4 separate regions of the Homo sapiens genome follow, and all the other regions are linked to region 1. Evidence: promoter capture Hi-C in 16 types of primary human blood cells and fetal thymus (Javierre and others, 2016). All regions are on one chromosome and are shown on one strand. The core of a region is centred on a gene start or on the middle of the fragment in contact, and the rest is flanking DNA. Distances in the headings are between cores, read along the strand shown. Region 1 holds the start of ZBTB44 (zinc finger and BTB domain containing 44). Region 2 holds the start of ETS1-AS1 (ETS1 antisense RNA 1). Region 3 holds the start of ETS1 (ETS proto-oncogene 1, transcription factor). Region 4 holds the start of FLI1 (Fli-1 proto-oncogene, ETS transcription factor).

Evidence for each region. Contacts are between HindIII fragments. The CHiCAGO score rates a contact against its expected background, and 5 or more counts as called.
Region 2: the fragment with the promoter of ETS1-AS1 here is called in contact with the fragment with the promoter of ZBTB44 in region 1 in 2 of 17 cell types (monocytes and neutrophils); the score reaches 6.7 in monocytes.
Region 3: a contact is called between the fragment with the promoter of ETS1 here and the fragment with the promoter of ZBTB44 in region 1, in 3 of 17 cell types (neutrophils, M0 macrophages and monocytes). The highest score is 9.1, in neutrophils.
Region 4: a contact is called between the fragment with the promoter of FLI1 here and the fragment with the promoter of ZBTB44 in region 1, in 1 of 17 cell types (neutrophils). The highest score is 6.1, in neutrophils.

What each region holds. Positions count from the first base shown.
Region 1 is chr11:130,312,288-130,319,862 of GRCh38, forward strand. It overlaps ZBTB44 (zinc finger and BTB domain containing 44), which reads right to left and starts at 2,630. Exons shown (of 8, transcript NM_001301098.2): 1 at 2,088-2,630. It overlaps ZBTB44-DT (ZBTB44 divergent transcript), which reads left to right and starts at 2,706. Exons shown (of 7, transcript NR_148980.1): 1 at 2,706-2,828. RefSeq lists enhancers at 1,784-1,833, 2,994-3,093, 3,264-3,363 and silencers at 1,924-2,753, 3,664-3,723. The HindIII fragment of the contact is 9,181 bases long and covers 1-7,575 here.
Region 2 is chr11:128,523,142-128,530,716 of GRCh38, forward strand. It overlaps ETS1-AS1 (ETS1 antisense RNA 1), which reads left to right and starts at 3,001. Exons shown (of 4, transcript NR_120581.1): 1 at 3,001-3,174; 2 at 3,392-4,277; 3 at 5,870-5,944; 4 at 6,997-7,242. All of the region lies in intron 3 of ETS1 (ETS proto-oncogene 1, transcription factor), which reads right to left. LOC124902790 (a long non-coding RNA gene) reads left to right here and starts at 7,248. Exons shown (of 3, transcript XR_007062949.1): 1 at 7,248-7,333. RefSeq lists a cis regulatory region at 1-327. The HindIII fragment of the contact is 5,425 bases long and covers 2,600-7,575 here.
Region 3 is chr11:128,583,914-128,591,488 of GRCh38, forward strand. ETS1 (ETS proto-oncogene 1, transcription factor) reads right to left here and starts at 3,645. Exons shown (of 10, transcript NM_001143820.2): 1 at 3,575-3,645. It overlaps LOC105369565 (a long non-coding RNA gene), which reads left to right. Exons shown (of 5, transcript XR_948163.3): 4 at 2,427-3,047; 5 at 5,108-5,746. RefSeq lists a silencer at 3,598-3,804. The HindIII fragment of the contact is 9,036 bases long and covers 1-4,993 here.
Region 4 is chr11:128,689,771-128,697,345 of GRCh38, forward strand. It overlaps FLI1 (Fli-1 proto-oncogene, ETS transcription factor), which reads left to right and starts at 4,302. Exons shown (of 9, transcript NM_002017.5): 1 at 4,302-4,506. The coding sequence starts at 4,489. SENCR (smooth muscle and endothelial cell enriched migration/differentiation-associated lncRNA) reads right to left here and starts at 6,253. Exons shown (of 3, transcript NR_038908.1): 1 at 6,143-6,253; 2 at 2,885-3,621; 3 at 1,902-2,351. RefSeq lists silencers at 3,361-3,410, 3,431-3,570, 4,254-4,623, 4,844-4,893, 4,934-5,153 and 1 more and a cis regulatory region at 3,790-4,522. The HindIII fragment of the contact is 9,137 bases long and covers 1-7,575 here.

The DNA.
Region 1 (7,575 bases), core at 1,380-3,879:
AATCACAAACTGGCAAACCACACCTTTACAACAGATCAGTAGTCAGCACTTTAATCAAATGGTTACATTTAGCATCATTAATAGTGTGGGAATCTGACATTGTGTGCCTCCTATATTATGCAACAGGAGGTACACAGCATCACCTATTAAATATTCTTGCCAAAGGAAGTTTTACTTTAAGCTAATTAAGCCTTCCTTTACACCTAACTTCCAGTTAATAGGAAATTCAGGGAGAAAGAGGAATAAACGAAATGACATTAGGAGGGCACAAATCCAGAATGTGGGTATATTTTACAAGACAACTGGTTTGGTCAATTACGTGTCAGAAAAAAAGAAGGGAGGGAATATTCATCCTATTTAATTTCCCCTGCAAAAAGAAGAGGGGATGGATACTCTTCATTTTACAAAATGACTAAAGACTTAATCACCAAATGCAATCAATGCATGAATCTTGACTGACTACAACTGGGGGCAGAACCCTCAAAGACACTTTGGAACAACTGAGGAATTTTGAAGATGGAGTTGTTAATTTTGATAGGCATTAATAATGATACTGGGGTTAGTAGGAGAATGTCCCTATTTTTAGGAAACACATGCCGAAATATTTGAGGATTACAGTGTTTGCAGCTTACTTTCAAATAATTACACACATACAGAGAAAGACAGGAAACAATATGGCAAAAATGCTAATCACTGAGTTGGTTATTCATTGCATTGATTAGCATTTTTATTCATTGCATGAATAACCGATCACAATTGTATAGAACGAACCTCTATACGACTAAAATTTTTCATAACAAAGTTAATAAAATTGTACTTCTATTGAGAAGTACGGTAGAAAGTACACGAAAGTACATCTATACTGGAATTATATTTGGGTTGAAATCTAAACTATCTTACTAGTTGTGTGCCCTAAGGCAAGTTGTAATTCTTCGTATCACTAAGTTTGTCACTTCTATAAAATTCAAGTAATAATATCTGCATCATTAGGTTGTTCTGAGAATTAAATAATTACAAATGCAAAAATGCCAAGCAGTACTGCACAAAATGAATAATCTGGTTTTCATAATTAATCAGTACATTACTAATAATCCTAAAATACAAAACTAAAGGACTACGTTCATTATATTCACATTCTATGATAAGGGGAAACTACATTAGGTAAAATTATTATTAATCCACTGACAGTCCAAGTGAAGTAATGGGGGAAATGAAGATTTATACAGTATTTTTTAAACCCAAGAATTCCAACTGAACACCTAGAGAAAAGGAAATCAAAATCGTGCAGCTTGCTTCCGGTATCAGCCGATCTCCAAATAAAGCATTAAGAAAATAAGTGGAAGTTATGGAGAATTTCTTCCTGACTTCAAGAGATTATCTACTTACACGCTGAAAAAGAAATTAAGTTTTTGTCTTCATTTTTGTAAGTTCCAAAAAAAAGCACACAATTACGGGGTTTTATTGTAAATTCTGCTTGGATTCATAGAACTCACATGGACGCAATTTCCTTTTAATCAGTTCTAACGTACCTGTCATTTCTCGAGGTAACCCCTTTTTCTGATTAGGCCAGCAATAAAACGACTAGATGCAGAGTGATCCTCAGGAAGGAAAGGAAAAGAGGTGTGTGTGTGTGTGTATGTGTGTGTGTGTTTGTGTGTGTGTATATATATATATATATATTTTTTTAAAGAAGTGCCATCTTTTTCTTTCTGTACCAGAGAAAAAGCAGAAGGGGAAAGGAGGAAAAAAAACAGGTCTGAGCCTCCCGGGTTCGACCAGGTGAGAGGTGGCAACACTCCGGCCGCTCCGGGTTAGGGTGTTGGGCAAATGGGCGTGCAAAGGACGGGCAGCTCCCTGGAAGGTCGGGGTAACTGCTCCGGGACCGCGGGGCCCAAGGCCGGTCTCCTCCCAGAAGGATTAAATGCCACCGAGGGGATCCCGTGGGGTGTCTCCCGGCGCGGACTAGGCTGACAGACCCGGCTCTCCGCTCCCTTCGGCGCCAGGTGGGGGCCACGCGGTGTCAGCCACGGGCAGCGTGCAGGGGCCGTCCCCCGCGCGACCGGAGCCCGCCCTCCCCTCCCCGTTACCTGCGGGCGGCGGCGCCGGGCCCGGAGGCCTGCTGCTCCTCCTCCTTCTCCCGCCAGGCTGGGGCGGCGAGGCGGCGGCGGCGGCGGCCCGGGGGGAGGGGGCGGAGCGCGGCTCGCTGCCTCTCTCCTCCCCCGGGAGGCTCAGGGGCCCCTATCTCGGGCCGCCGCGCCTAGGCCCGTGAGCAGCCTGTGGTGGGGCATGGCGGCACAGCCACCGGCGTGCCCGCGAGTGGGAGTGCGAGGAGGCGGGGAGGGAAGCACCCCCAGCGCTCGGAGGGGCCAGAGGGGAGGAGCGAGGGGGCCCGGGAGCCGCGCGCTGGCGACCGTTGGGGACGGTTGGCCGAGGGCAGGCGGTTGTTTGGGGAGCGCGGCGACGGCTCGCGTGTTCCCAGCGGGGCGGGGTGGGGAAGGGGAAGGGGACTGAGGGGAGGGGAGGGGGAGGTTGGGAGGGAGCCGCCGCCGCGCGCGTGCGGCCGGCGCCGCCGCCGTTGCCGCTCCGCTCACTCCAGCCTGTTTGGGGGCACTTTGTTTGTGTCCCACAATGCTCTGCGCCGGCGGCCTGGCTGGGGAAGGGGAGGAGAAGGGGGCGGGGCGGAGCGCGCTCGGGGGCGGGGCTCGGGGCGGGGAAGGAAACGTGATGATTGCGCAAGCGCAGAAAATGGGCCCTCTTGGCCGTCGGGACTTGTACTGTTGGTGACTCCGTCTCCTTAGACGGTGGAGCCTGCGTGACCCAGAAAGGCCGTGAGTCTTGACACTGTATTTTTGCATATGTGCGCACATGTGCCGATTTACATTCACATGCCCCATAAGCCCTGTCCCATTTGTCCTTCCTCTAAGCCGTCCTCTTACCCAGTTCCCCTCTCACACCTGAGAAGCATTTCTCCGCAGGAGTCACATTTATAGCATTATTTTTTTCTTCGAACTAAAAACATAACTCCTATTTTCTCGGGTAGTTTTTGTAGGGAGGTCGAAATAGAAACACTTCAGCCCCTCTTCGGCGAGGGAGGTTAGTTGGTAAGGTGCCCATTGTTCACCCATGGAAACAGGCCTGCCAAGGGCCGCCCCGCAGACAGGTGAGCCCGCGCCCCCGTCCTGGGCGGACTGCGACATGCGGCGGGTGTCTGGATTGCGTGGCTCCTCGGGCCTCCTCGCAGTGCTTGCTCTCTTCCGTTCTAGCACTTGCCTCGGTGACCTGGCAGGACGTGCGGTTCTTGAGATGAGTGGAGAAACGGACTCCCAGGTCCCTCTCGTTCTTCCAACACAGGGACAGCTAGAGCTGCTCCAAAAATATACCCTACTTCTTCCACAACCGTGAATCTGTCATTTTTACTGCACCATCACTTACTTCCTGGCCTTCCCGGAGGAAGTGTGCGGGCCTCCCCGAAGTAACCGGTACCGCCCGGGGGGTTTTGAAGTTCTTGGTCAACTGCAAAATCAATCAACCTAGTTAACTCCTAGGGCCCTAAGTCTTGGCTTCCCCTGGCCAGGCGGGCGAGCGCTCTCCACACCGCCCCCGGAGGTCATAGGGGTTCCCGGGACTGCAGGCGGCAGCGCCCCAGGTGCCTGGGGGCGGGCGGGGTGCGGGCAGGTGCTCCTTGGGCGCTTTCTGTTTTCCCACGCCTCCAGTTTGCAAACCGAAAGACTTCTTTCCAGAGGGTTTTGTGCAAGGTGGGTGGACGTCCCGCTGAAGTAGAGTGGATTTTCCTTTTGAAACACTTGGCAACATCTCACATTAATTCACTCTGAGAGACAAGCAGCCAAGCACCTGAACACCCTGACACTTGCAATCTTCTTTAGGAATAAAGGCAATAAAAACAACTTCTGTTTTTATAGTCCTTCGCAGTTTCCAACAAGTTTTCAAGCATGTATAATGTTATCTAATCCTTACGGCAACTGTAATTCACAGGTTTTATCACAGGTTTCTATTATTATTCCCACTATCATTCTTATTATTCCCATTTCAGAGATGAGAAAAATCAGAAAGATGCGAACTAGGCCCAGAAACTTTTGCACTAAGTTTTGAAGAGGGGAAGGGAAAGAAGGCGGAATGCTTACCTGGGAGAGGACTGGCGGCCACAGAGCAGGGCTCAGGAAAGGGCATGAGCTGGGGCCCTGGTGAGGAATGTGTGAGAATGTATGTAGGTGGTAAGCAACTGGACAAGAATCAGGGTGGAAATGAAGTAGTCAAATCCTATCTACCTCTCCTAGTGCCTTTAACAGGATAGTCAATAAAAGACCATGAGGCAAGTCTTTTCTAAGTGCTTCTCCAGGGGCTGTGGTGGCAGCTCCTCAACTACTACACTGACACAAAAATTTGCTTTCCTTTGTAGTACAACTTGAAGTCAGGTAGAGGAATGCCTCTAGCTTTGTTATTTTTGCTCAGAATTGCCCTAGCTTTTCAGGGTCTTTTGTGGTTCCATACAAATTTTAGGATTTTTTTTTCTAGTTCTGTGATGAGTGTCATTGATATTTTGGTAGGGATTGTACTGTACCTGTAGGTGGCTTTGGGTAGTGTGGATATTTTAACAATATTAATTCTTTCAATTCATGAGCGTGAGATATCTTTCCTTTTTTTTTTTTTTTTTTTTTTGTTCTCTTCATTTTCTTTCATCAATGTGTACACTTTTCCGGGTAGAGATTTTTCACTTCCTTGCTTACATTTATTGCTAGGTATTTTATTTTGCTTTTTTGTAGCTATTGTGAATGAGATTGTTTTCTTGATTTCTTTTTCAGATTGATGGCTGTTAGCATATAGAAAATCAACTGTGCTGGGTGTGGTGGCTCACGCCTGTAATCCCAACACTTTGGGAGTCCAAGGCAGGCAGATCACGAGGTCAGGAGTTCAAGACCAGCCTGGCCAACATAGTGAAACCCCATCTCTACTAAAAATACAAAAAAGTTAGCTGGGAATGGTGGCACGCGCCCGTAGTCCCAGCTACTTGGGAGGCTGAGGTGGGGAATCACTTGAACCCAGGGGGTGGAGGTTACAGTGAGTCGAGATCGTGCCACTCCAGCCTGGCGACAGAGCAAGACTCCATCTCCAAAAAAAAAGAAAAGAAAAGAAAATCAATTGATTTTTGTATCCTTCAACTTAACTGAATTCGTTCATCAAAGTTCTGAGAGATGGAGTCTTTAGGTTTTTCTAAATATAAGAACAAGTCATCTGCAAACAAGGATAATTTGACTTCTTCCTTTCCAATTCAGTTGCCCTTTATTTCTTTCTCTTGCCTAATTGCTCAGGTGAGGACTTCCAGAAATATATTGAATAGGAGTGGTGAAAGTGGGTATCCTTGTCTTGTTCCAGATCTTAGTGGAAAGGCTTTCAATGTTTTCCTGTTCAGTGTGATATTAGCTGCGGGTTTGTCATATATGGCTTTTATCATTTAAAAACTTTTCTTCCCTTAGATTATTCCCTTGTCTCCTCTGCCTTTTCCACTTAAAAAATTTTTTTTTGGAGACAGGCTCTCATTGTGTTGTCCAAGAGTGCAGTGGTGCAATCACAGCTAAATACAGTCTCAAACTCCTGGGCACAAGCGTCCTCTGGCCTCAGCTTTCCAAATAGCTAGGACTACAAGTGCGCCACTGTGCCTGGCTAATTTTAAAAATTTTTTGTAGAGATGGGTCTTGCTATGTGAACTTGGGCTCAAGTGATCCTCCTGAAGTGCTGGGATTACAGGCATAAGCTACCATACCTGAGCCCTTTCCTGCTTTTCTTTCTCATTTAACATTTAAATATTTTATCATCCTTCCACTCCACCCCCACCTCAGGTCTGAAGAATTTATTAACGAACAAATGACCGTGAGGCCCTTCAGAGCTCAATGCTAGATGCTTGGAGAGGGTGTGAGAAAATCTCAAAGAAGATTAACTTTGCAGGAGCCCTCTTGTCTGCTTTGGCTCTGGGCAGGGTCAGTTTCTGTGGCTTCTGCAGCCTCCCACCTTTTTCCTTCTTGAGCTGGTAGAGACTTGCCTCTGGGTTGCTGGAATATACACACCTTTCTTTGACACTAGGTTAAATAATACTGCTGGGAGGATTTTGTGAAATCAGAATCCTGTACACAGGTGAAAAAAACAAATGTAGACAGTATGAGGAACCTTTAATTATTAACTTGGTGTGGATGATTCTGAGGAATTCAAATTCCAGGCAAATTCCAGGAGTTATATTTCAGCCACGAGCTCTTTGGGGGAATAAATTCTGCAAAAGATGGCACTTCCTTGTGGAAGACCATTATAACTGAATGGAAACTTAGTTATTTAGTCCAAAAGCATTAGCATTAAGGCATGAATCCTTTCTACCCGACCTTGCCTCCTTATTAGATTAGATTATACAACTACATATATAAAAAATTAATCTCACTCTCTTACCCTAAAATTTATACCTCTTCTAGTGTTCACATTTTACCATTCACCCAGTGAAGCAGGGTGACTTTGCTACTTTACTACTGTATCTCAATTCCAATCCATCAACAAGTCCTGTTGAATGTGTCCCTCTCCACTGCCACCGTCCTAAAATAAGATGATACTAGCTTGTGCCTGGAGAATTATAATACCACTCACGTGGTTTCCCAAATGCACTCTCCCTTTTCCTCATTCTCTACATGGTCGCCAGAGTTGCAATGCATAGCAGTGATGTCAGCCAACAATGGCTTCCTATTGCTCCCCGGATAAAGTCCCAAACCCTCAGCGTGGCTTTCACACCGCTGTGCAATCTGGGCCCTTTCACTGTCTTGAGCTTCATCTCTTAGCTATGCTTTTTTGGGAAATGTGCCAGTTGCAGAGGCAGTTTTGTTTTTTCTTTTCTTTTTTTTTTTTTGAGACGGAGTCTGACTCTGTCGCCAGGCTGGAGTGCAGTGGCGTGATCTTGGCTCACTGCAACCTCTGCCTCCCGGGTTCAAGCGATTCTCCTGCCTCAGCCTCCCGAGTACCTGGGACTACGGGCGCCCGCCACCACGCCCAGCTAATTTTTTTGTATTTTTAGTAGAGACGGGGTTTCACCATGTTAGCCAGGGTGGTCTTGATCTCCTGACCTCGTGATCCGCCCGCCTCAGCCTCCTAAAGTGCTGGGATTACAGGCGTGAGCCACCGCGCCTGGCTTCTTATTCCCCCTCCCCCCCCCCTTTTTTTTTGAGACGGAGTCTCGCTCTGTCACCCAGGCTGGAGTGCGGTGGGCGATCTCAGCTCACTGAAAGCTCTGCCTCCCGGGTTCACGCCATTCTCCTGCCTCAGCCTCCCGAGTAGCTGGGACTACAGGCACCCGCCAACACACCCAGCTAATTTTTTTGGATTTTTAGTAGAGACGGGGTTTCACTGTGTTAGTCAGGATGGTCCTCGAACTCCTGACCTCGTGATCCACCCGCCTCAGCCTCCCAAAGTCCTGGGATTACAGGTGTGAGCCACCACACCTGGCTGAAATGTATTTCTTAAGTAAGACCTGAAAGTAGAAATAGCTCTGTGATCCATGGACAGCGGAATAGACGTTGTGTTAGCAGG
Region 2 (7,575 bases), core at 1,751-4,250, 1.8 Mb before region 1:
TTTAGATAAAACTAACAACCCTCCCACGACCGCCACCAAAAAAGTGATGCAGAGGCTCTGTGGTTTTGAATTTCTGGAGTACATCATTGGCAGCCATGACAGAATCACAATGCACAGTTTCTGTTCCATTTGGGAACCCCCAACACTAGAGATAAAACAAAATGAACCCGAATAATTCATGGTTTGCCACTAATACATTGGTTGTAATAGAGATAGTTTGTCCTAATTAACAAATCAACCAGTACATGTATATATCTAAATACATAGCTAGAACCAGGCACTGAGCTCCATCTTTGATTAACAGAAAGATTAAACATAAATCTTCCTGAGCAATCTCAGAGAAAGCTATTTTTAATGTTTCCTGATTTCTAAGCACATTTGAACTCCCAGCATTTGACTGTAACTGTAACCTCTGCCTCTGGTAAGTTTTGACACACAGGCTTACCTTCATCTAATCCCAGTTTTGTGCCCTTGAAGCCTTAGTAATTTGCAGATTTCCCACAGCAAATCGGGGAGGAAGCCAGGAACAGAAAAATCTGTGGCTCCTGGTCTAAACTCCAGATTAAATCCCTCCTTAGTGACCAGAGGAAAATATTTGTATGTGATAGTCCTAATTTTTGAAAGAACAAAGACTGTTGCAATCCAGCTGTGTTTCCACAAGGTATGAGAAAACAATGCTGGCCTCCAGATGACAAGAACAGACCCTTCTGGTCCTGGGAAAAGCCTAGAGAAACAGCTGATGAATGAATTGTACATTTACACGTCCAAATGAACCACAAAAAAAAAAAGGTTCTTGAATCAATTCTGCCTTACTCACTATGAATTCATCAGGAGAAGAAGTGAACAAATCTAGAGTTGCTTTGGGGAATTTTGTTTTGTTGATGTTGTATTGAGAAAATGTTGGCATTTTTTAATCCAAGTGTGAGTACTTCTCTATTTTCAAATGCAGATTCCTCAGAGCAACTCCTTTCTCTCTTCCCCAGTTTGCTCCTCAACTTTCTTCCCCAGACTAGCCTAAACACTGCTGCTAACATCCACCCAAATTAGATACTAAAAAAGCCCACCATGATTAAACTGTAAACACTTTCCACTCTAGCAATGAGGAAAATTATTCTTTCTAATTCTTCCATAGTGACAACTCAGATAGTCAATCATCCGTTTCCTAATCCAGTCCTGAAGCACAGAAACAAAATGAGTGAATGTCCAAATCAAGGAATAGGGTTGCGTAAAGCAGCAGTTTGGAGAGATAGCCAGGCGCCACCACAGGCTGCCAGGAAAGTTACCTCCAGATGATATTAATTATGAATATTTATGCCATCAGAAGTTATGCATCGAACCCTGGATTTGGATGAAGAGCACTAATAAGGTCATGTTAAAATATTTTTTACATATTTAAGATATAATAATCTGATCAGGTCTGCCAGGGTCATGTTTCATTAATCTAATCAATGTTGATAAATGAAATTTTTATTCATTCTCTTTAGGACACAAGTAGATTTTTCTAAATGTTCATATGGACTTTAAATGATATTTCTATGTTATCATACGCTAAAACATTGATGCCTAGCCTAGTGCCTAAGACATTACAGAGCTCAATAAATATGTGTTGAATGATGAACTATCAACTTTTTGGTCACTATGGGCTTCCTAATTCAATGATTAAGTGAGTTTGATATGCTCTGGCTTGTGAAGATGAACTAAAAAGTGTCAGAGGCTGTGCCCTTTTCCCTTCATAGTAGAGCAGAACCTCTATCCCCAGCACTCACGTCCACTCGGTTACATGTATGCCTCAGTGTCCCCACCAGCCAAACAACAGCAGCCAAGCGTTGCCTTTCATCCACTTGGGCAAGATACTTCAATACCATATCTGGTTTTTAAGGCACTCAGGAAAAAAAAAAATCAATCAAATAAATACTTCTGTGCTTGTGCTTGTACTGCAGCAGTCTGTTCCTCCTGCATTTGGGAAAAAACAGAATTGTATTTTTAAGCATTCCTTAGACTTCGGCTAATTATATCCTACCAAGTGCTGAATTGCCTTACACTAGGAACGTGAAGTCAATAAGGGCCAAGAAAAGTCCGCAGGAGTTGGGGAACAGAAGAGTGGAGCTAGACAATAATATTAAGAAAATAGTCACCTTCATACAGGAATTCCTCAAGCACATGGAGTATGTAAAAAGCATACTTTCTTTTTTATTTATACTCCTCCCTCAACTCCACCCCAACTTCAATAAAAAAGAAATATAAATATACACTTAATGTTGAACAATCATGGAAGACAGACTTTCCCTCTCCAGAAGTGTCCTAGCATGTTATCTACTCCTGAGTCTTGAACTTCAACAAAACAAAGAATCTCTGAGTTTTGAGCTAAAATATGCTTTACTGAAGGTAGGTACAAAAACATTCAGACCACTAACGGCTGATCCAGAACCAGTTTATGACTCACAGATGTTGATTTACTGGTATAAATGTAAGATTTAGAAAAAAAAAAAAAAAAAAAAAAGCCCTCAATTAACAACAACCTGTCTGAGCTGCATTTGTGGTCTCATTTTTCTCTGAGAAAAGGCAACAGTCTCTGTCATACACAGAAACAAGCTTTGAAAGCTTACTTCTAAGGCAAGTGGTTTCTATGTGAGAAGTTTAGTCATTAAAAGTCACACTAGGGAAGAAAAATGCCTGGCACTTCAATATCTACATTATCAAGCAGCAATAAAATGGAAAATTAGAGATAGGAAGGAAAATTAAAATAACTCTCTTAATTAAACTTGGATGCCAAAAAGCCTTAGGGTCAGTTAAGGGACCCAAGCCAGGGGACTCAGATGGTACTGTTGCTGACTGCAGGCTGGCTCTGTGACCTCACCAAAGCCACTTAACCTTTTTGTGTCACAACCTCATCTCTGTTTCAGGGAATAAAATCAGCCCTAGCTCTCCCTAGAATGGAACACAGACTCATTGGCTATTGTTTAGAAGGCACAATAAACAATGAGGGTAGGAGGAGCTGCAGTCAGGAGGGAAGAAGGGAGGGTGGGGTGGGGTTGGGGGAGAGGGGAGGACTTGGGAGCCTGTTTGCCCTGGAAAGCTCAATATAAGAAAACAAAGAGGATAGTAGTGTGGGCTTTGGAATAAGACTCAGGTTCAAATTCTTACTCTACCAACTAGCCAGCTGAATTGCCACAGGTAAGTCATTTAAACAATCCCGAACCTCAGTTCCTCCATGTTTCAACTAGGGATAATAGCAGCACACACCTTTTAAGGCTATTTGAATGATTAAATGAGATAATGTATGCAAAGAATTTAGCACAGTGTCTAGGTGAGAATTAGTATTTGATTATTGTTATTAAGATCTAGTATACGGTAGAATATGTGGGAAATCACATTAAATGTCTGTCTACAGCCATCTCTTTGCAGAATAGCTTGGATGCTCAATTTTCCTGAACGATCTCCAGCGAGAGATAGAACAACTATCACCACATTTCATTTAAAAATCTCTTCAAGACCCTTCCTCAGTTCTTAAACTGGCAACCTGCCCAGCATCAGCCTCACTTGAGAAATTCGAGAACTACCTGATTGGAGAAGAGAACTAGATTTATATTTGTTTTGAGTCACAGAAAAGTGACAGTTTAAATTCTGAAAGAAGATCACATTTGTAGTGCCTCTTTGGAGACAAAACCTTAGGTCTTGGATTTGTCACATGTTAGAGCTCAATGGGAGTTTATCAGTGCTCTCCAAGTCCAGCACTCCTATTTACCAGAGGTGAAAAATGAGTGTGAGTGAGGAAATTATTATTTCCAGGGCCACACAATCTAAAAAAGTCAGTGTCAGTACTAGAACCAGATGCCCTGATAGCAGTTCTCTCCCTGGCATCTCCTTGCATTTACTTTGCATTTCACTTTGGCAGGAGAAGTACCAGACACCCTTGAGACACAAGACAGGATACAATGGACATGGGAGTAGATAGATGAGCAGACTCAATTTCTAGAAATCCAACTTCTCTACACTGGATGTATTGTCTTTGGGCAAATACATTGCAGGATAACCACACTATGGTTCCCTGTGGGAGACAGCTTGGCATGGGCTGTCAGGAGAGAAAGGGCCTGGGTTGGCTCTATTGCTGTCTGCAGTTTCTTTAGACTATAATTATGAACCATTCAACTGCATCTGCAGCCCCAACAATGTGGGGTGGATTGGCCTAATCCACAGACCAAGCGACATTTTAAAATCCAGCAGTTTAGACACGTATTCCTCTTGCAGCAAATCAAACATGGCTCAGACAGGAAGAGGTAAGGAGCTGCCCAAGGTTAGAGGGTTCTGAGGTCTCATCCACACTCAGTGTTGTGTGCTTCCCTGAAGCAGGCTGAGCATGTTGCCTGGAATTGCTGCAAATGCAGAATGCAGGCTACTCTGTGAGCCTTTGGGGATCATGTAATTGGGATTCCAATTTAAATTGTCCTGAATTGGACTCTTGAGGAGGTAGAGGGATAATGGCAATAGCACAGATGGCAAGAGAACCAACATCCTTTAATAATATGAGAGAAGAGGACAGCCAGTCTCCTAGAAGCTCTGCATCCCAGGGCTACAGGATTTCACCCACTGTCCAAGGCTGCAGGTGGTTTCATCCTGGTGGAAGGCTAAGGCCTTCCTCTGATCTTACTCTGCTTTTCTCTTGGGTTACAAAGACAACATCAAACTTCAAAACAGATGTTCTCTGCAGTTGTGGTTTGAATCTTACATTAAGACAATTTCACTGTGGAATCTTTTCCCCTCTCCCCACTACTTTCATTTAAAATGCCAAATCAATTGCCCCAAAAGACTAACATTTACCACCCCAGAGATCAAGAAGCAGAGATAAGTGGAGCACAAAAAGGAGAAATAGCCCTGAAAGGAAAAGGGACGGTGGTACAGGAGGAAGTAGTGGAAGGGAAGTCCTCTGAGAACAATGGAAGTGTAAGTCGAGGACAGAGAAGGGGAGGAGATGAGGAGGTAGAGTCACAGTGATTTTATGTTCTTGTCGTTCTGGGACTTCAGTCCCCAAGATTTCAAAATGCAGTTAAGACCTAGTAAAGTATCCCATACTTTAATTAATTGTCTTGCATGGCCAACAGTCATGGAACTACAGAAAACAGATCAATGGGAGGTCCTCATGCTGGAAGAGATGCAAAGGATCCAGGATAGAATGGAGGTGAAAGGATCTCAGGAGGTCACAGAAGACACAAGGGAAGGTCAAGCTGACAATCTAGGCAGAATATAGAGTGTGTTTCTCAGTCTTTTCCTCACATGGACATTTGCAGTACACAAAGAATTTCCCTCACAGAAGCTGTCACCCCACCCCTGCAAGTTGCCACTTTTCTGCTCAGCTCAAGAGCACACTCCTAGTACATATTTGAATATGCGTGTCAGTCTCCTACACTCTTTAAAGGCAGCAACTGAGGTTCAGTCATTATTACACTCCATGGTGTTTAGCTCAAGGTAGTAAGAGCCCCATAAATTATGTTCATTATTTAATTAATGAACAGTTAACTTCCTAACATCCCCGTAACATTTTTACAGAAAAATGAAGCTCAGATACCAGTTTTGTTTTGCCTAGTTCGGTCTGAAGTGAGACTCAAATTTGCCCAAAGTTTAAGATTAAAGATCCAACCAACTGACTCATTTCTAACTAAAAAGGTCTTCGTAAAGTTTTATTCTGTTCCTCCCATTCCTCCCATCCCCTTAAAGGAGAATGTTGCTAAGATCACAATATTCATTTTACTTTTTATCTAATTTTTTATTCTGAGACTTCATGTAAAAAATGACATTTGGCTCACCACGAAGTAAATCAGTTGTTTGATTGTCAGCCTGGACGTTTTATACATCACGCTATTCATATTCTCAGATGGCTGCTCAGAAGCAGTCTTCAGGAATTTCCGAACTTCGAGTTGAATCTTTTATTTCACTGGCTTCCACAAAGGTAAGATGTACAACTGCTATATACATTATTTGTAAGATAAGGGAAATACATGAAATGAACTCAATTTCCTCCATCTTTATGAGAAAGAATAGACTGTTACATGCTTTATGGTGAGCCAGGGTGCTTACTACAAATCCCTTTCACCTTCTCAAGTTTAATCTGTCAGGACTCCAGAAGCACTGTATTTTGAAATATATCTTCTGGCTATACAGGTGATTCTATATTGAGGAAGGGTATGGGTTGGAAGTAGAAATGGGGGGACATGGGGATGGGCTGAGAGTGAAGATGGGAATGAAAAGGACAGGGAGGATCAAATGGAGCTGCTACAATCTAGCAGGTGGCACAGAAATATAGAAAGCAGCCCTAACCACTTTTGTCGAAGTAGAGTATTGCTCTCTGCACTTTGTTGTTTGTATCTACTAATGGGTAATCAAGATGTTGGAACAGAAAAGGCAGCTGATCTTAAAGCCTAAAAACCAAGGAAATATTGGATTTGGTGAGGGCTCATGATTTCTCCTGAGTTCTGAGGGGGAATCATGAACACACATTATTTTACATCACTTCTTCCAGAACCAGTTCCGTATAAGAGCCCCAAGAAAACATTGATGTGTCACACTAAGAACAGCCTGCTTAGCCAGTAAATATAACATTCTTTGAGTATGTCACTGCAGTCATCCACAAACATTTTACTCAAGAATCTATGCCTATCTTACCTTAGGCATCCTTCAATGAGCAGCATTATAGTGTCATAATGAATTAATATGAATCCTAGCTTCACCAATGCTAACTCTACCAACAGAGGAAGTAAAATGCATAGCACTTTTTAAGTTCCCATGCTGCTTTAAACCTCTTTTCTGGTATGTACTCTCCTGAAAAGGGTGCACAGAATCTGAGTTTCATAAATATGCAGGAACATAAATTCATTAAAACAACTTTAGGGTGTCCAGTGTAATTATTCATATTTAGAATTTACTGAGCATCAAGCATGCCAATGATGTAAAGTTGACAGATTTGAATAAGAAGCTCAAAAAGGGACATGTCAATTTCTCCAGCGTTACAGCTCACATTTGATTCTCAGCTCTTAAGGACCAAAAAGAAATGAAGTCTTCTTTAATTTGCAAGCAGCCAGCTGTGCTCACTCCACATCTTGCATCAGCCCTGTGAAGGAGTCAGAATGTAGTGGATGGTCCTGCCCATGACTCATGAGGTGGAACAGACCCAGCTCACATCTCATCTATCTGGATTGGCTCCCATACAATAAAAATCTTTCTTCCGTTGAGTTGGTGAAAAGAAGAGAAGCAAAATGGGCATGTGTGACGTGTAAGAGGGCGCCATTTAATCAGACAGGCCTGTGAAACACTTTCAAGAGTCCAGGGCTGGCAGTGAGAGGTAATGACAGGTAACGTGCAGAATGAAGAAAGCAGAAAGCATATAGAAGTTGCTTCTTAATGGAAACGTGTTTCATCAGAATGATCAGAAACATGTGTTCTCCCCAGATTGGGAAACCATCTTGAAAGACTTCATCACAAAAAGGCCTTGGGTGGGAAGTACCACAAGGGACCCATCCAGGAGGGGTGGGAGGAGGTGCAGCTGGGTGGGAAGCTGGCAATGGACTGTGAGAGGAAAAAACA
Region 3 (7,575 bases), core at 2,395-4,894, 1.7 Mb before region 1:
CTCACTGCTCTAGATACCATTTTTTTCTACCTGAACTCCCAAAGCATGTATAGGTTATACTACACTACTTAATAATTATATTGTCTTTCATTTTTATCCTCTTTTCTAGTAAAGATTATTGTGTTAATTTTAAAAATGGAGTTTACATATTGTTTCTTCTGTGTTTGGTATGGTCTCCAGCACAAGGCTGGGCATGGAGTAGAAATAAAACTGATATTTGTCAGGGAAGGGACTGACTTACTTACCCAGGAAACTAGGCCTGGGTAGTCTTTCTTCAAAGTCAGTATCTTCATAACAATGAATAAGTAATCCACAGATACCACTTCAGAAAACAGGCTTAATCCAGTGTTCTCCTAGATAAGCAAATCAGTCTAAGCAGAAAAATCTATCCTAAATTTGTGTAAATGTCTTAGAGTTACTTAGATTCCTATGACATGCAGTTCCAATCACAAGCTCTGGGTTCACATTCCATTGGCTCTAATCAGGGTCCACCATGAGTTAACACGGTCATATGACTGAGCCTCAGAGTCCCCACCTGGTAAATGGGGATGACGAGAGTGGAGTGCCCACCTCAAAACTTCATTGTAGATTAAATGAAGCAGTCCCTGCAAAGCACCTAGCAAGGATGTTGGAACATACCAAGTGCTCAGTAAACGTTAGGGCTGAGTATTCCTCCTTAGGTGAAATGAAGAAGAATGGATATGATAACTAGAAAATCATCTACATTAAAAGGTGGAGTTCAATAAGCTATACTTTCAGTACAGCAGGGATAAAGGAGATGAGGAAGCAAAAAGTAAGTTATGTCTTCACATCTAATTTTTCCCAGGATTGAAGAAACTTAAAAGATTTGCCTGAAATGCCACTAAATTGCTGCATACCACATTAATTTTGCTCAAATGCTAAATACTTTATCATTTCCATAATGAAGAAAGAAAGGGAGGAAAGGGAAGGAGGAGGGAAGAGGGAGAGAGAGAAGAAGAAGAAAGGAGGGGAGAGAAAAGAAAGAAAGAGGAAGAAAAAAGAGAAAAGAAAGAAAGAAAGAAAGAAAGAAAGAAAGAAAGAAAGAAAGAAAGAAAGGAAGGAAGGAAGGAAAGAAAGGAAAGAAAGAAGAAAGAAAGAAAAGAAAGAAAGAAAGAAAGAAAGAAAGAAAGAAAGAAAGAAAGAGAAAGAAAGAAAGGAAAGAAAGAAAGGAAGGAAGGAAGGAAAGAAAGAAGAAAGAAAGAAAAGAAAGAAAGAAAGAAAGAAAGAAAGAAAGAGAAAGAAAGAAAGAAAGAAGGAAGGAAAGAAAGAAAGAAAGAAAGAAAGAAAGAAAGAAAGAAAGAAAGAAAGAAAAAGAAAGGAGGGAGGGAGGAAAGAAAGAAGGAAAAGAAAAGAAAGATAGAAAGGGAGGGAAGGGAGGGAAGAAGGAAGGAAGGAAGCAAGGAAGGAAGGAAGCAAGGAAGGAAGGAAGGGTCCCAGCTCGTGGGACGTAATCATTCCCTTCTGCTGTTTGATGTGAACAGTTGGGAATTTTGAACTGGTAATTAGAAAATGATAGTCACTATGGAAAACAGATCTATTCACCAATAATTAAAATCACAAGGTACATCAGAACCTCAGTTATCAGTAAGAAATTCACCAGTGCAATCAAAGAGAGAAATCTGTTGATTATTTGTTTGCAGTGTTTTGCCTTCTGCCTCACCCTCCCCTAGGTGAGAGGACCTGCACCCACACACCCAGTTTGTTGAAGTATTACTTCAGACAGTCCTTGACCTCACTGGCACTCTGATTTTTCATAGCCCTATGCTGTTTACTTCTATTCTCTCATATTTGTAAACCAGGCGGGGCGCAAATGATTGCTCACCTTTTAGAGATGAAGGGAAGAAGGCACAGACACGTTCAATCCCTGTTCTCTGTTACAAAGCTAATCACTGACATAATCCAAGTGCACAGCCACTTTCCCTTCTCCGACCCAGCGCTGGTTCAAGTTCTGACCCCACTTGCCTTTGAACTCCATTATCGTCCGGGACCGGCCACTGGCCCAAGTCGGTGCTCTGGCCACAGACTGCCAGATGCCAAAGGATCCCACCCCTCTACCAGCTTCCCCCAGGCTCTGCCTCAGGACATCCTTTCACAGCCAGCAACTAGCACCTCCGTGTAAGGAGCCTGCCGGGCAAAGATGCCCCCTCCATAATTAGGCTCTCGGCTTGGCTTCCCACATCCTCAGCAGCGGAACCAGGACGGAAGAGGCTGCATGGATGCCTGAACTGTTTGTTATTTCACTATTGAGTTGGCAAGGATGGAAGTAGTTGATTTACAATTAGAAGCAGCATGCTTCTTCAAATATTAATATTAATAACTGCACTACTGAACACATGAAAAGACCTTTTCATCTTCAAAGCACTTTGCAGACATTAACCCATTAGCTCTCCCTTCCCTCCATTCAGGAACAACAGGTGAGCAAGACTCTCAACAGCAGCAGTGGCCACCCTGCAGCCCTTGTGCACAGCCCACGGCCCCTGAAGAAAAAGCGTTTTCTCTTTGGATAAAAATAGGCCACCAAACCCAAAACCACAACTGATGAAAGAGTTATAGTATCAGTAATTTTACAAATCAAATGGAGCTGATGGAGTTATCATTTTAGAATTGGTATTTCCTGCTGTTTAACAAATACTTTTTTCTCAGTTGCATGGCAGTGGTCTAAAGTAAGAAGGAAAATGGACTTGAGATTAAAAACAAAAACTTACCCAAAAGGTGATAAAGAAATCCTGCAATAGAATGCATTGATTTCAGTGACCCAGCACCCTTTTAAGTTTGCCTGAAGAAAATACTACTTTAAAAGTTGGTAACAGAGACCTTTAACGGTGGGTGAGGAGTCACATACAAAGTGTCACGGCCAGATAAAATCACCGGATGCAGAGGAATTGCCATCGACATCTCCTGCCACTGAGTCCAGCTCTACCGTGGGGACAAGAAATACCTCCCTAACTCTGAGACAACCGCGGCCCACACCCACACCATGTCTCAACAACAGACTTAGGAACTTGTAGATCTTTGGACAACTGCAGGTCAGTCCCAAGACAGAGAAAAACACCAAACAGGCTAGTTTGGCTAGCAAGATTCAAACCTGTAGCAATTTCCTCTCTATTAAAAGCAATTCATTAAACTACTAGCAGGAGAAAAAAGTAAAACAATAGATTTACTAGGAGTGAAAGAGAATAAAAAGAAATTTATATATTTAACTACAGCTTTATTTCTTTGGAAGTGCTCCAATTTGCAAAAAAAAAAAAAAAAAATCAGGGTTTCTGACAAGTAATCTACGGGTATCTAAAACGTGCATGGTTTTACTTTTGTGAAGCAGGGAACATTTTTAAAAACATAGTCTTGCTTTCAGACTATTCTGACGAGGTTAGGAAGTATTTTTGAAAATTGTTAAACAATTAAATGGGAATATAGAAAGACGTGAAAAGAGAAAGAGAAAACTCACTTGTATCCTGAATCTCCCTACCGACTTACTCTTTAATTCCACAGAAATTTTTTTAAAGCAGGAAAAGGAAAATGGACTGAAAAGTTTTAGGCAGAAACTGACACACACCTCACTTACTACTTTGCCGGAGAGCAGATCCTGAGTGAGCTTCCCTCAAAGTCTGTGGTCTCTTTCCAACTACCTGCGGGAATCCTCTGCTCCGTAGCTTAAGAGGATGCAAAGACCATAATGTTTCTAATAGAGCTGCCTCCTTAAATTGGGGGGTGTGGTCAAGCCAGGGAAAGCTGGAAAAAAGGCAGTCTTCCTCTTGCCCCTGGCACCAGGACAGCAGCCACTGGCACAGGCACAGCAGTCTAGGTGGAAAGCACTGTTGATTGACAGTGGTGGCACCAAATCACACATTATTTCGTATTCTTCAAATTGTGCTTCAGCTGAATATAACTCAGCCTTGGAGAGTAACAGGGAGGGAGATGAGCAAAAGGGAACTAGTTCAGTGGGATAACACTGTATCTCACCTCATCATTTGCTGATGCATTTACTCTCTGCTGAATATGTAAATATTCATGCTTCATGTTCCTTGACTTTCTCAATGGAGCCCCCATTAACCTAGGCAAGGTCTCAGGTGAGGGAAAGGGATTGCTTTAGAAACACAGGACGTCCACCACCCAGTCACCTGCTCAGGCTTCCCGTTTCTCTCTAATAACTTGATATGAAATGTGATATTTTCTAAAGAAAAGAAAATAATTTTGTGGAAGAGAGCTGACTGGATATGGACTTGGGATTTCTGAAAAGTAAAGCTAAAAATCCCCTTTTCATATAAGTCTGGTTTTAGGCAATCTCTAAAATAAGGATACTTTTAGCAGCCCTGACTCATGGTCCGTGGTGCAGGAATAAAAGGGCAGAAGTGTTCATACATTTCTCATTTAGGGAAAATGTAAACAATATGAAAATCTTACATCTGTCCTAAGTGAAAATACACAGCATCTTTTATTCACATATTCAGGACTATGGTAAGAATGTTACAGCATAATCTCATTTCTATGAATGGAGTTATTACAATTTTTTTTGAGAAGTCAGTATTTGGCTGCTTAATCTAAGACTTTTATCCTAAAAGATTCCATCTTCTTTGAGTAGGAGGTGGGAGTTAAGATTTGTCATAGTTGGCTTCTTTCTCTTTTTAATAAAGATACAAACTTAGAAAATCCTTGAAAATCTAATAACTGTCATTTGGAGCCATATCATCATCAGCCTTCATTGTATAAAGCTGGCAATGCAGTTAAGATGACATTGTAAGTAAAGCAAGATTTTACTGCTCATCTTCTGCCTTTGCACATTAACTTGGAAGTAAGGAAGAGGTAATGCTATTGGTTCACTTTAGTTTAATAAATTGCCTGTGCCAGGCACTGTTCTAGGCACTAGAAAGATAGCAAGTTTGCATTGTAGTGAGGAGACAGACACATAAATCAACGATCTCCCCCCAAAAATGTAATACATGCTACAAAAGAAGTCTATGAAGAGAGCTAGGGAAGCTTCAGCCTGCCCCTGTAACCCAGTCAATTTCAGCACACTGCCCCATTTAAAGAGCCCACGGTCAATTATACCAATCATAACTAATTACAACTGTATTCACTATGTTTGCAGGATAATTGAAAAAAACAAAGTTGAGAAGACTTGGATTCTTGCTCTATAAGGGTGTACAGTGTGGCTGTCAAGGGGTTCTGAAGTCTGGAGTTGTCTATGCTGAGTTTATATAGAAAGCAACTCTTCAGGACCTTAGCTCCCTCCTCTGACACGGCCTTTTACGGTGTGGAAGAACATAAACTAGAAATCTTAATAGTGCAAAATAAGCCACCACTGTCATAAATTGCCTAGAGAATGCCCAGGAAAACAGTAAGTTTTGTTTTAAACAGTATTTTCAAAAATATAACATTAGATGGGTATCCACATATAAGAGCATGACATTGGACTCCTACCTTACACCATACTCAAAAATTAACAAAAATCTATCAAAGATCTGAACATAAGAATGAAAATTATAAAATTCTTAGAAAAAATCAAAGAAGAAAACTTCATGACATTGGATTTAGCAATGATTTCCTGGGATATGACAGCTTATCCCAGGAAAAAAAACTTGGGCAACAAAAGAAAAAATAGATAAGTTGGACTTTATCAAAGTTTTAAAATGTTGTACATCAAGGGGCACTATTAAGACAGTGAAAGGGAAGTCCACAGAATGAGAAAAAAAATTGCAAATCACATATCTAATAAGGACTTAATACTCAAAATATATAAAGAACTCCTACAACTCAACAGCAACAACAACAAATAACCTGATCTAAAAGTGGACAAAAGACATGAGTAGACATTTCTCCAAAGATGCAGAAATGGCCAATAAACACACGAAAAGAAGGGCAACATCATTAATCATCAGAGAAATGCACATTCGAACCACAGTGAGGTACCTCTTCACATCTATTGGGGTTCCTATTATCAAAGAAACAGAAAATAATGGCAAGAATAAGGAGAAATAGGAATAAGGGTGTGTTGCTGCTGAGAATGTCAAATGGTGCAGCCACTGTAGAAAACAGTGTGGTAGTTCCTCAAAACAATTAAATATAAAATTACCATTTGATCTAGCAATTCAACCTCTACATATATAGCCACAAGCATTGAAAGAAGAACTCAAAAAGATGTCTGCACAATATTGTTCATAACAGCGTTATTCACAATAGCCAAAAGGTAGAAACACCCCAACTATTTATCCACAGATAAATGGATAAGCAAAATGTGGTATGTACAGAAAATGGAACATTATTCAGCCTTGAAAAAGAATGAAATTCCAATACATGCTACAGTATGATGAACCTTGAGGACATTATGCTAAATGAAATAAACCAAATACAGAAAAGACAAATATTGTGTAATTCTACCTGTATGAAGTACCTAGAATAGTAAAATTTATAGAGACAGAAAAAGGGATAGAAGTTAACACAGGTTGGAGAAAGGAGAATGGGGAATTCGTGTTTAATGGGGACAGAGCTTCGGTTGGGGATGATAAAAAAGGAATGGAGATGGATGTGGGTGATGGTTGCACAACATGTGACTGTACTTAATGCCCCTGAATTGTACACTTAAAAATTGTTCAGATGGTAAATTTTACGTTACATGTATTCTACCACAATAAAAGAATATGTTGTCCCGAGGGAAAAAAAAAATATATATATAGCATTAGAAGTCAGTAGGCTTCCGCAGAAGGAATGCTTTCTGATCCACATGGATAATATAGGACAAAAGAAAATGATGCTCTAGAAGAAGAAGGTATGAAATCCCTGGAGGATCCCTCCACTGCACGGTGGTGGCTCCCCAGCCCCTCCCTTATGCCGGCTCTTGAAGAGGGTGTAGTAATACCAGCCCAACTTCACAGGGTTGCTGAAATCACCATGCGATTAGATGACTGTGTAAACAGTAGAAGCAATGCTTTTCTTTCCCATGTCCATAGATAGCTCTATGAGGAAAGACCTCAATTGATAGGGCAATATGACCATTATGATTCTCAAGGAAAAAATTAAAACTCAGTGATCCAGGGACATGGGTACCTTTTGATCCCATGTAAAAGGGATATGCAAAATGAGTTGTTTGCTTCTTTGAAGGAGTATCTCTGTAGCCTCACCTAAACAATCGTAGTCTCAATATAGTTTGGATACAAGTGAGACAGAGCATGAAGGAATTTCTAGAATAGCTTTTCTTACTGTAAGGAAACCTTTTTCCTTTTCTCAGTATAACAAGTTACCTTGTAAGTTAGTATGTCTTAAGAGGAAAAATGGAAGTAAATTCCCAGAATCTTAGCTCTGCAAAGGTCTTCAACGCTCCCACCAGCAACCTTCCCTCACTGCCACCCCAACTCCCTAAAGTGCAGAAGTCCCCTTCAAAGCAACTTATAATGATTCTGTAAAACCACCCGCTGCAGGAAAAGTGTGAAGTTTGAAATTAAAAATGGCATTAAATTTAAGGAAAAGCAAAGCAAAACATTACACACGTATTGCATTTTCCATATTAACTTTCCTTCCATCTCAGAAAAAAGCCTCGTGATAATTCAGAAGACTTCATAT
Region 4 (7,575 bases), core at 3,052-5,551, 1.6 Mb before region 1:
CTGGTCAGGATTGGACTCCCTCGGGGTTTCCTCAGCGACGCCGCGTGGTCTGGGGGCTCGGAGACCCTCCTCCTCCCCAACCCGCCCGCCCCCGGCCCTCCCGCCGCCGCGGCCTCCCACGTAGCGTTCTGAACCCGCTCAGCGCTAAGGCAAGAACCAGCGTGGGGAGCGGGCCAGGCGAGCAGAGGCTCTAAATCTTCCTTCACTCTGTGAGTAGATGAAGTCTGAGAAACAAATTCAAAGCAGGCGCGCCTGCAGAGCCTTCCTGCAGAAATATTCCCCGGCATTCAAGCGCATCCAGGGGCGGCTTGAGCTGCCTTGTTTGGCTAAGGTCAGACGAGACTCGAGTTCTCCAATAAAAATAAATCTCAAATTAATTATGGCCTCGAGCGAGAGGCCAGACACTTGAAGCTGCATTTGTGCAGTCTGGAGTTTTGGCGCTTGCCCGCCCACCCCTCCGGTTTTCTCCCGCCCTCTCCTCCTCCCCCTTTGCCAGCTCGGATACCCGCTGCGGCCTCGCTGGACCAGAGGGGCATGGGAGGGGAGGACGAAGGACGGAGGGAGAGGAGCGGCCCGAGACATTCTGCCAGGCCTGGCATCCTGCGGAGTTTCAAGTGACGGAGCCACCCCTGGGTCTGTTACCCCAGGGACCAGGCTCAGATCGTCAGGTCCGCCCACCCCAAACCCAGTCTGGGGCCGAAGAAGCCCGGGAAGCCCGTGTCTGGAAAGTCTTGACCGGGTCAAAAGGGCTGACATTGAGCGAGCCAAGACACGTTTCGACCCGCCGCTCCCCTCCCGGGGGAAGCAGGACTTCCGCATCTTTGAAAATACTGTCAAGTGCGAATGGTGCGAGGCAAGTCGTCTCACCAGCGTTCCAAATGAAAATGCTCCAAATCCAAATATTTCCTGAGTATTCACGCCCATGTGCACGGTTTCTGTAAGTGACCCCAGACTTGGAAACATGTGGTGGGCTGTTTTGTTGTTGGGACATTTTTTTCTCCAGTTGGTAGCTTTTGTTTTAAATACTGGGAAGAGCTTCCTTGGCTGTGAGCTGCCTCTGACTTGAAAACCAGCCCCGAGCTGCTGGAAAGTGAGCTGTCGCCGATGGCACTCATACCAGCTCCTGTTCAGCAGCTCTGCCCAGTCTGGGAAAGGGCGAGGCCATTGGAGCCATGGTAAGCCAGGAAAGAGGGTGTGCACAAGTGTGTGGGCAGGGGCAGCCTTCCCCAAGCTGGGCCCAGAGACTAAGGAAAGAGGAAGGAGAGAAGAGAGGAGGGAGAGGAGAGGGAAGGGGAGGTCTGCCCCACTAACACAAGACAGTTTTCATTTGTAGGCCCTCACCGCAGGCTCTCTATCAATTTGTCTCAATGCAAACATTCAAAATATCCCCTTTGGCTGCTCGTGAAAACAATGTGAGCTGCCAGGATCAAACCATCTTTCCAGATGTCTGGTGGTAACCACATTAAACAGGGTAGACTTGTTTACTATTGTGCTTGGTTAGGGCGCTTCCCCCATCCCCTTTCAGGATTTAAAAAAGCAGCAGTAGCAGTGGAGTTGACCATCAAACCCTGAGTTACATAAAAGTGGGGCAAACTGACCTACGGGCATGCCAACACTGGATGGAGGAAATCCGAGATTCCCGCAGGCATCTAGTCAGAGTTAGGTGGGGTCTTCTTTCTGGGTGGAGACCTCTGTGAATGGACAGGAGCTTCTCCCAGGGGGCTGAAAATCGCCAACAACAGTGGCACCAGTGCCAGTCTGTGAGTCCCAAAGGGCCGGGGTGCCTGTGTCTATGCATCTAGTGGTGCCTGTGCCAGGCTCTCCACTACCCCCCGCCCATCTCCAAAACCATGAAATTGCCGTAGCTTTGGAGAAACAGAAAGTGCGATGGAGTTCCACAGTTAAAAACTAAAGGGCAAGTCTTCAATTTAATCTAGTTCCATATTGAATAATTCCAGTGGGGGAGGCAGCTGGTGCTGAAAGGAATTGGGGGACAGTATAGGAATGTTCGGGTGACTACTGATTAATGTAGTGAAGATGATCTGTCACTTGCCAGACCAACAGGAGTTGGAAAGAGAAACCTAGCCATGGTGTCTGCCACAGAGGGACCCTCTAAAGTGCTAGGAGGAGGGTGGGGGGCAGTCGCCACCTGTGGGATGCCATGAACAGCCTCTGCAACTGGCCAGCACCAGGAAGGGGGGCCTCCTGGTGGTGGAGTTGGAGTCCTTTCTGGCTGAATGAGGAGCAATGTGGCTGGGGTGTGCGGGTTTCTGGTGAGGTCCGGGTGGGAAGCCGTCTCTCCGCATTCTCCTGAAAGCTCTGTTGTAGTTTGAAGGTCGGTAGAGCCTGGGCTGAAAAGGAAACAATTTGGGGTTTGAAAGGATGTAATTCATTCTTCCTTTCCCGTTAACCTCTTTCCTCTCTGGAAAGCACGTGGAAACGCTGAAGGGAGGAGTGAGAGGGCAGGCAGCCTGCCGCGGGGAGGAAAGGGTTAAGCCTGATTTCTTTTAATTGAACTCCAGAACTGGTGGCCCCAGGCAAAGGGGGGGACTGACCCCGCTAGCGGTAACCAGATGTGGCGGTCCCAGGGGAGCCCCGGAGCAGACCCCTGGATTGAGAAGCAGACAGGAGCGGGGGGAGTCAGCCCGGCCCCCATCCCACCATCCACCCCACCCCCACCCCCAACACGCACACCAAGTCTCAATTGCTGGCAGGCTGCACCCGCCACTCCAGGTCTGGTCACGTTCAGACCCGTGTCTGTATTCGAACCCAAAATTGGAGCCGAATTGATGAGACTAATTTCTAGAGAGGGAGGGGGAGGGAGGGAGACGAGTGAGCTCTCGGGCTCAATTGCTCCTGAAGAAATAAAGAATTAATAAGTCACCTTTTTTCGCCTCTGTGGACACCCTTTTGAAATTTTTTCTTCCAATTGACTTGGATCTCCTCTGGATTTTTTTTCCCTCTTTCCCCCGTCGGACTCTTAAATAAAAGTGAGCAAGTCCAAAGCGTGGTCCGGAGAGCGTGGACAAGGTAACCTGTTTTGGATGTCCGGGAGAAGGGAGTCCGGCCGAAAGGGCCCAGCCCCTCGAGGCTGCTCCAACTGGGGCGCGCGGCGGCCCAGGAGGGAGGCGGGGAGGTCTCCGGGTTGGGCCGGGGAACGCCGGCCTCCAGGCTGGGTAGGGAGGACGGTCCAGAGCGCGGGCCTCCGGGTCTCACCCCGGGAAAAGTCTGGGTCTGCTCTGCGCTGTTGCGTGCTGCGCTCCTGGGACCTGCTGACTGTCCTAGAGGGAACGTCCCGCGGTAGTGTCAGTTCCCTGGGGACCAGGAAGGGCGACTCTTGCCTGGGAGTCAGTGCTTGGGCCGTCGGGTCCGGGTAAGCGCTGGGGGTTTGGCTCGAGAAGATGCGGATAGGTGGCCTAGGGCGCCGCGGATCTCCGCCCTCTGCGGGCACCGGGAGCCCAGGGTCGAGGCGCGCCGCCCCGAGGGGCCCCTTCTCCTAACAATGCGCCCGGAATGGAGTCCGCGCCCTGACAGCGCGGGTCAGCCCGAAACCGCCCAGAATCCGCTTCGATGAGTGGGTGAGCCGCTCTGGGAGTCTGCCGCGTCTCGGCAGCGGAGGGCCTGAGTGGAAAAATTCTTATTGGATGCACTTTTTAATGGTTGGTTTGCCTCGGTTTTCGTCCGAGTCTTCCCCGGCAGTAGGCGCTGGGTTACCCGCAGCCCTAGCCAACTCTCCCTCCATACCCCCCCTACCCCACCCCCAAAAAGTTTGTCTCCGGCTGGAAAAAGCATTAATGAACGTATCTGTGGGAAGAAACGGAAAGTGAATGAGTCAGGAGGGCCACCTTCGGCCAACCGCCTCAGGAAAAGCAAAGAAGCCAAAGGTCTTTGGCTTTGGATTTTGGGGGAAGGTGATGGGGGGAGGTTCAGACTTCGGGAATCAGGGCGCGGACGCTGGGCGTGGACCCCGTCATTGTTCCCGGCTAGCTCTTATCTCCCAGGAGCAAGTATCCTGTGTGCGCAGCGCATGAATGTGTCTGGGCATCTCCGCGTATATTTATATAGTGTGTGATGCGAAAAGCAGGACCAGCAGGGGAGGAAGAGGGGGTGTGGGGGGGGAGGGAAGACGAGGGAGAGCAGAGGGGAGAGAAGAGAGAGGAGAGCTCGAGGCGAGAGAGAGAGAGAGAGAGAGAGAGAGAGAGAGAGAGAGAGAGAGAGAGAGATAGGACTTCCTCCCCGATTCGCAAAGTGAAGTCACTTCCCAAAATTAGCTGAAAAAAAAGTTTCATCCGGTTAACTGTCTCTTTCGCTCCGCTACAACAACAAACGTGCACAGGGGAGTGAGGGCAGGGCGCTCGCAGGGGGCACGCAGGGAGGGCCCAGGGCGCCAGGGAGGCCGCGCCGGGCTAATCCGAAGGGGCTGCGAGGTCAGGCTGTAACCGGGTCAATGTGTGGAATATTGGGGGGCTCGGCTGCAGACTTGGCCAAATGGACGGGACTATTAAGGTAAGCGGCGGGGCAACGGACGCGGGCGGCGGGGACCGGCCGGGGAGGCGAAGCGGCGGGCGGGTAGGTGCGGGGCCCGCGTCCCGGAAGACGTGGCCTCTCTCCCTTCCCTCCGCGCCCCGGCTTCGCGCCGGCTCCTCCGGCGCTCGGGTGGCGAGTCCTACTCGCGGGCCAGCCGGCCAGGCGCCCGCATTGAGGGCGACCCTCCCCCGAAATCCCAGCCCCCAAAGTGGAGCCCCGGCCCCCCTCCCACCTCGCTGCCCGCCGGGGCTGCAGGAGGGGACGGCGGGAAACCGGGGGACCCCAGGGTACGGAACGGAGTCAAGGGCGAGAGACCTCGGGGTCCACCACTCCCACCGACACCCGGGGCTCCCGTGGCCCCAGCGCTAGGCACTGGGCTTCCTCTCCGCAGAGGCGGAACACGGCGGGGGCGGGGGCTGCAGTCGCCCGGGCTCGGGTCCCTGCCTGGTGGGCCCTGGGGTGGGTAAGTGGCCTCGTTGCACGAGGGTAGGGGTGCAAGTGAGTGTGTCGGGGGATCTATCTGAGCGGGCTCCTCCAGATGGAAGCCCCTGTTTACATGTCAGCGCTTTCCCTTCCTCTCGGCACTCAGTCGCCCGGCTCTAGGCGCTGGAGAGCCGCCGGCTCCGCGGGACTCCTGGGCCGGCCTCGCCGCCTCTCCGGCGGGGAACCTTCCCCAGCCCCCGTCCGCACAGATCCCTAGCGCCCCGAGCCCCCGCCCTTCGCGCCTAGGCGTGCGCCGGCTCCAGGACCAGGGCTCCTGGAGCTGTCGCCTCCGAAAGGGTCCTGCGTCCTTCGGAGCCGCCTCCGTTGCAGGGGCCGGCTGTGAGCCCGCGCCCCGCGCCCGCCCGGCCATTCCCACCCCAGCCGCCGCCGCCAAGCCTGGGTCTAGGTTGCAAAGTGCAACCCAGGCGGAAAGGTGAGGGTTTGGGTTCGCGTCTCACTTCAGAAAAGTTGACTGCTGTCTCTGAAAGGGTTCGCCAAGTAGGGCCAGGAGCAGAGAGGAGGGACACCCCCTAACGTGACGGGCCTTAGAGGACCTAGGGGAATGAATGGGACCAGGGGTTAGCTTCGAGGCTGCCGCGCAACACCAAGCGGGAGTCTGTCTGGAAAAACTATTAGGCTGGCGAGGTGGGGACTGGCAGAGCCCGCCATTCCCCAGAACCCGAAAGAATCGACTCCCTGCTCAGGGCTCAGCAAGAGAAGGCTAAGATGTTGGGCTCAGAGAATTCAAGAGATTTTTATCTTCTGGGTGGGGTCGTGGTTTTTATTTTCTAAGTTTTTTTTATGAAAGTTTGAAATATGCTGACTTAGGTAAAAGACACCAACCGAAGGAACTTGCAAATCTGGAGATGAGATAACTGACTGTGATGGGTTAAAGGGAGCTATAAGAGCCTATAAGAGCCTGGGTTCCTCAAACCCAAAGTGAGTAGGTGAGAAGTAGGTGAGAGGGGATTCCTGCAAAGACCCGAGAGTGGGGGTCATTGGGCCATTTTATGCCTGTTTCTCTGCTTCCTGTTGATGTGTTCATGCAAGTGTCTCTGTATTTCTGGGTTTAGTAATGAGATGCTCCCCTCTAGAAAACTCCCTCGCCCCAATCAGGACAGTTACCACTTACTCTGAAGGCCTCTTCTGATCCAGAAGGGTGGTAAGATGGCCTCAGGGTCTTGATGTGGACACCCTAAGGAAAAGTGAAGAAATATCTCCACACTGCTTAAACTCTACGCACAGGCCCTGAGCAAAAGGAGGAAGCTGTGGTCTGTGTACCCAGGATGTGCTAACCTCTTTAGATACACACAGGGATTGGCATGGCAGGCCTCGAGAACAGGCTTAGAGCAGGAACCTGACACTTCAGGCCAAGGATGGGAGTGAAAGTCCTTCCTTTTTTTGTGGGTGGTAGGAGCCATGAGCTCCTCCAAACCCTCCCTGTGAGCAACCTGTCATTCACCTAAGTTACCTGGCTAGGCTGAGTCCCCACAGAGCTACCTTCAGTCTCCAAGCATTCTGCAAGATTGAGCCTTTAGTGTGTGTGTTGGTGTTTAAGTTGTGTGAAAGCCACAGTTTTCTGTTCGCATGTGACCTCTGGATCTTGGGGTTTCCAGATCCTGTTCCCACAATAGTTCAAATACTGTGCTTGGAGAGGACAGTGGACCAGGAGAGAGGCCAGCATTCTTCTGCTCTCTTGGTGAGAATGAACCGTCCATTAAGCCTGTTTGAGATTCATAGTCATCACAAAAATGAAACAGTGGAACTAGGTTACCTCTACAGTAGTATCTAACCAATCTTCTCAGTGCCTAAAATGTGCTCATATGTGTTTACAAGAACACTTGCCTGTATGTGCACTAAATCCAGCCCTACACTGATCGAGGTTGACGACACTCTAGAGAGAATCTAATTTGTGTACACAAATCCAGGGTGTCCATTTCCAGTTTGAACTGCCTGGAAAAATCAGGTTTGAGTGATTCTAGGATGTGATTTTATGCACCTGCATAGTTCTTCCTCAAATATAAGTCATGTCTATATTTCAAAATACCTGTGGGTCTTGGCACTTAGGTGGTATTTGGTGCAGGAAGCCAGGGAAGTCTGGATTTCTTCACAGAAGCCCTTTATTTTGTGCATAATTTGCACAACTCTATGTGATTACAAAATCCCAATCTTGTTGCCCTCCTTATAAGTCCCTCCATATTATATTCTCTTCTCTTTTCCAAGAACGGCTCCTGGAAAGGCTCTGACCGTCACATTGGGAGAAGCAATATTTGCTGGAGCCACGCTACTCTTTTGTCACAGACAGGTTAACTTGCAGTATTAAACAACACCCGACCCACGCCCCTGCTTCCCACACTGATATTATCAGTGTTAAAAAGCACATGATACTGTTTGCTGCTTTAAGAAATGACCTGGTTTCAAAAACTGCATCTTAATTTTAGGCTGGCTTCAGTTGAATCCAGTTAATTTTATCTATGAATGCCTGACTCAGTGCACGTGGTGTCATTACAGATGGGGAGACAGAGAAGACAGACATGGTGAATGAAGGTGGGAAATAGAGAATGA